Regions from separate parts of the Homo sapiens genome. Here region 2 is linked to region 1. Evidence: promoter capture Hi-C in human tissues and cell types (Jung and others, 2019). All regions are on one chromosome and are shown on one strand. The core of a region is centred on a gene start or on the middle of the fragment in contact, and the rest is flanking DNA. Distances in the headings are between cores, read along the strand shown.

Region 1 (2,631 bases), core at 78-2,577:
TGAATAAAAAGGTGCAAATAATGCGGCCTATTTGTATGCATGGTGGCTTAATGATGTTGATGGTGATGATGATAGCTTTACACTATCAGAGCGCTCATTCTGGGCTAGGCAGTTTTCTCAGTGGGGTACAGATATTAATTTATTTACAGTGAGCCAGAGAAGTCTGCTGTAGCTTTTAATGCGTCTAAAATGGGACACATGAACCCCTTAGGAATTTTCAGACTGATCAGGACAGTTTCCTAGAAACAGTTCGTGAAAGGGATGAGATGGGCCCATGGTATCTACCCCTTCCTAGCTGCGTGAACTTGGGCAACTCAACCTTCTTGTGCTGTTTCTCTATGGCTAGTGCGTGTAATTTGTTGTTGTTGTTGTTGTTTGCTTTTGAGACGTTGTCTCACTCAGTTGCCCAGGCTGGAGTGCAGTGGCACGATCTTGGCGCACTGCAACCTCCTTCAAGTTATTCTCCTGCCTCAGCCTCCCAAGCAGCTGGGGTTACAGGCATGCGCCACCATGCCCGGCTCATTTTTGTATTTTCTGTAGAGATGGAGTTTCACCATGTTGGTCAGGCTGGTCTCGAACTCCTGACCTTAGGTGATCCGCCCACCTTGGCCTCCCAAAGTTCTGGGATTACAGGTGTGAGCCACCACTCCCGGCCTAGTATGTGTCATTGACAATTGTTCCTACCTCAAAGGCTGTTATGAGGATTAAATGAGCTAATGCATGTAAAATGCATCTGCATAATATATAACACAGCTCGATAAATGTGAGTTGCTATTGTTGATTATTATGGCCACGTTTGCCGCTGATGATGTTCAACCACTGAAAAGCATCGTTTTCTTTCTTCTAGTAACTGTGTGTACTGAATGCCTCGCGTTTGTCCCTACTGCACTTTTCAGTCTGTCACAATCCTGGGTCGTCGGGGGACTGTACCGAGCGCCCTTGGAGTGCTCGCAGCAGGGAAGAAGGAGCGAGCAGGGAGGAGCTGAGGAGGGTCGGAGCGGAATGGACACCCAGAGACTGAGATGAGAGAGGGGCTATAAGAAGAGAAACCAGTCGCAGGAAAACAGAACTCTCGACAAACGCACGCCCTCTTTGCGCTCTCCGTTTCTCTGGACCTGGATGGAATTGTTTTACTTTGCATCGCCGGACTGCGCTGCGGACGGGGTGGGGCGGCCCAATGGCCCCCCTGGGGTTACTCTGCTCCCCTTCACGCTTCCCTCCCGGCCCCGCCCCGCGATTGGCCGGCGCGCCCCGGGGCTGCCGCCGATTGGTGCTCGCCGGCCGGAGCCGCGGGGCTTAAAGAGGGGGCGGGGGCGCGCTGCCCAGCAGCGCTGCTGTCCCCGCCGTGCGCCCTTCGCCGCTGAGCTCGCAGCCTCCGGCGCCCACCTCCACCTCCAGTGTCCCGCCTCGGGCCGTCGCCCTCCAGCGGCTCGCGAGCGTGGGAGACGTACCTGGGCAGGCACTGTCCAGCCCAGGCCCAGGCACAGCCGTGAGGGGCGAGGCACGGGGACATCCTGGCGGCCACCATGGTGGCCACGTGCCTGCAGGTGGTGGGCTTCGTCACGAGCTTCGTGGGCTGGATCGGGGTCATCGTGACCACCTCCACCAATGACTGGGTGGTGACCTGCGGCTACACCATCCCCACCTGCCGCAAGCTGGATGAGCTGGGCTCCAAGGGGCTGTGGGCCGACTGCGTCATGGCCACGGGGCTGTACCACTGCAAGCCCCTGGTGGACATCCTCATCCTGCCGGGTAAGGACCCGAGCTTGGCGGCGGCTCCCAAATCCTTATCCTCTGGGTAGAGAGCGGGATATTAGACGGCGTCACAGAGACATTTTGGGGGCTTGAAGACCTTTGGGTACGTTTTTGACATCCCTAGTCCCACCTTGTTGTAAAAGAATTAGGCAGCCCCGAACTTAACTTCTCTAGGCCGCAGTATTCTTATCTGGAATTTGAGATAATAGTGGCAATGTGGCCGGTGGTAACACTGGCCGGGTCCCTTTGAGAATGAACAAACCGGAACACCTAATAGGAACTGAGTCCGTGTTAATTACTGCGGTCCCAGCCCGCATCCTTCCACCGTCCGCTTCCCGAAGTGCTTCCCGCTCCCGCCCGGCCTCCCCCGGGGCGCCGAGCCTTCGCGTTAGGTTCCGCCCGCAGAGGTGAGAAGGAGCGTGTAACACAAGCTGACAGGAGAATCGAACCGGCTCAGGCTGAGTTTCTCGGTCCTCATGGGATGGGCGAAGCGCCCCCGGCCAGGTTAGAGCCCTCCTAGCTCCGTCCGCGCAGCCGCTGAGCAATTCACGTCCAGGGCTCTCTGGGCTGCCTGGTTTGGGAAATGTCACGTTGATTCCCGCACGTGCCCAGGGCCATCTCCGCTGCCCCCGCTACCCCCGCCCCTGCTGTGGGCGCGTCAGACTGCGGGGCTGCGGTGACGCCGGCTCCCGCTCCGCGCCGCTGGGTTGGATAGGGACGAGCGGGCGCTCCTCGGAGGGCGGACTCCACTGGGGAGATACGGAGCGCGCCGCCGAGGGTCGCTCGCCGCCACCCCTCCAGCGTGTCTCAGATTGGGAAGGGGAGGTAAAAATTGACAGCCTAGCGCCGGCCAGGGGCCACATTTTCACATGTGTC
Region 2 (2,631 bases), core at 96-2,595, 43 kb after region 1:
TAAACAGTAACGTTTCTTTTCCACAGTGAGAAAAGCTAGAATGTGGAGTCCTGTCATCAGATGATGTGACTACATGGAATGAGGACTATAGCTGCTCTCTTAAAAACCTGCAGCCCCCTCTCTCAGCCCAGACAGTTGAGGTATTTATGCACCATCATAACATTAACAGCATCTTTGCTTTGGAAAGTGGGGGTTTATGATTTCTAGGGTAAATCCTCGCCTTTGGGAGTGTGAATGAGACAAGCGTATCAGCAACTGCCAAGACCAATCAATAGATGTGCATGGAACATTCTCTTCATCCCCAAATCAGAATGAACACAGTCCTTTAAAGTCTGCACTGCAGGTGAAATTCACATGACTCACAATTCCCTTTAGCCAATGTTACCGAAGTCAGTGTCAAGAAAACTTAACAGAAAAAAAAAAAAGCACAGAGTGAGTTCCTACCATAAAAATCCAGGCTGCCCCTGTTTCCTAGCTCTAATATAAGCCATTTTCTTTCCTTATGTGTACCAACATGTACTAAATGTCCCAAAGAGTAAGAAATTAGAACTACCTGTTGTCCGAAGACCTTAAGCCCAAAGCTATCTGTGAAAGTCCTATAGGGATTTTGTAATTCTGTGTGTGCAGAACACAGTTAAATTATTATTATTATTATTTTTGAGACGGAGTTTTGCTCTTATTGCCCAGGCTGGAGTGCAATGGTGTGATCTCGACTCACTGCAACCTCTGCCTCCCGGGTTCAAGCGATTCTCCTGCCTCAGCCTCCCTAATAGCTGGGATTACAGGCATGCAACACCACACCTGGCTAATTTTGTATTTTTAGTAGAGATGGGGTTTCTCCATGTTGGTCAGGCTGGTCTTGAACTCCTGGCCTCAGGTGATCCACCCGCCTCGGCCTCCCAAAGTGCTGGGATTACAGGCATGAGCCACTGCGCCCGGCCCAGTTTAATGATTTTGTACACTGTTTTAGTTGATACTGCAGAACACATATTCACCTTTGATGGGCTACAAAACTTCCACTCACCCCTTGTGGGTTCTAAGTCCTAAAAAAAAGAACACTCTATTTTCTTAGAGAAGTAATTTTGGCAAAAGGCGACTGCCTAGCTGTTTCAGAATGATTTCAGAATGATGCCTGCATTACTCAAGCAGGACAAGAAGAGGAAAGCATTTTAAAAAGGAAGTTGCTCTTAAGGAGAAAAAAAAATTAAAACAGCCTTTCTTCTAAAACTCTTAGAGAAAATAAAAGTAGGACATAGGACCAACCATTATGTACATGAAAGGGGCTTTTTGCTACCCATCCCCATTCCCAGCGAGAAATACTAAGTAAACTCCTTGGTGAAACTTCAGCTTTCTGGTTCCTGCGTGTGGTGGGGCCTGCGGTTTGGGATGCTGTTTCTGCACTTGCTCACTGTTGAATTTCAAATACTCTTTCGTGGCCAGGCCACCACTGGTTACCTGCTGGTGCCTCTCTCTCTTAGGATCTCCAGAGGTCTTTGCAGACACGTGGGTCCTCAGTTTCAGGGAGCTACACAGGTACAGGGGAAGCAGAGGCTCCATGAAGACTTTGGATAGAAACATCTTCCTTGACACGTCTTGTTCCAAACAGCATGAAAATGGAGCGCTGGCACACAGCCCTCGTGGCGACTTCTGGATGTGTTTCCTTTGCTCTCCTCTCTTTCCCTCCATTGGAAGTTAGGGACACCTCTGCACTACTCACTGACCTGAGGTTTATACTCCAATAGTGGACCCCTACCCGCTGCGTAGACTCCGTAAGCAGACCCCCGCTCTGGCTTCAGACACATTTCCTGAGTTCTGACTTTTCCACACAATAAGACATTCTAATCTGAGATTCATAATTAGGTAAACCTGTGTTTGGCCCTCCGCGGACTTTCCTCTGACATCTTGGGCCCCTGGTAAAACCTAGTGCGAAAGGGGACGGCAATTTTCTCCAGTCTTCTATGTGGATTTTCAACCTGATGTAGCTTCTGTTTATGTTGCAGATAAGAGGTGGTTTCTTGTAAGGTAGACTTCCAACAAATGTTGGATGTCTAACAAATGTTGGATTTGTCTTCCAATAAAAGAAAGGATGTCAGGTTTACCAACCCTTTTCAGCAGAATAGAGGAGAGAGATTTCTTTGAAGGAGTTTGTGTTTTGTTTTTCAATAATTACTAGATTTATATTCTGGCTGACCTATAGATTCTGAAGAAGGATGGATTGTTAAATTCAACAACTCCCTTCCGCCCGCCATTTATTTAAACAGATTTATCATGACCATTATGTAGGCATTTGATTAGCTACTAGTTTGTTACTAAGAAGTAGAACTGGCACACGCCTATAATCCCAGCTGCTTGGGAGGCTGAGGCAGGAGAATAGCTTGAACCCGGGAGGTGAAGGTTGCAGTGAGCCAAGATCATGCCACTGCACTCCAGCCTGGGTGACAGAATGAGACTCTGTCTAAAAAAAAAAAAGTAGCACTCAAGCTCAGTAAAACCTGGAGCTGAGATTTTACTGTTTAGATTAGATAGATATAAAAAGTTGTTAGGTTTAGTTGTTGAAACCTATTGTTGAAAACTTTAAAGTGGCTGTTAAATTGTGTTGCTTGTCCACGTATTAAATGGCTGTATTTTCTT

The links. The method cuts DNA at HindIII sites, captures the fragments that hold promoters and counts their contacts. A contact is called where the count stands out against the background at its distance.
Region 2: a fragment that was not itself captured here is called in contact with the fragment with the promoter of CLDN11 in region 1 in 1 of the 25 tissues and cell types used here (hippocampus).

The regions. Positions count from the first base shown.
Region 1 is chr3:170,417,541-170,420,171 of GRCh38, forward strand. CLDN11 (claudin 11) reads left to right here and starts at 1,328. Exons shown (of 3, transcript NM_005602.6): 1 at 1,328-1,752. The coding sequence starts at 1,527. RefSeq lists an enhancer at 1,076-2,028. The HindIII fragment of the contact is 16,199 bases long and covers 1-2,631 here.
Region 2 is chr3:170,460,273-170,462,903 of GRCh38, forward strand. SLC7A14 (solute carrier family 7 member 14) reads right to left here. Exons shown (of 8, transcript NM_020949.3): 8 at 1-2,631. Among named protein-coding and RNA genes, the nearest start is that of SLC7A14-AS1, 5.7 kb to the right of the region's middle. The HindIII fragment of the contact is 5,273 bases long and covers 1-2,631 here.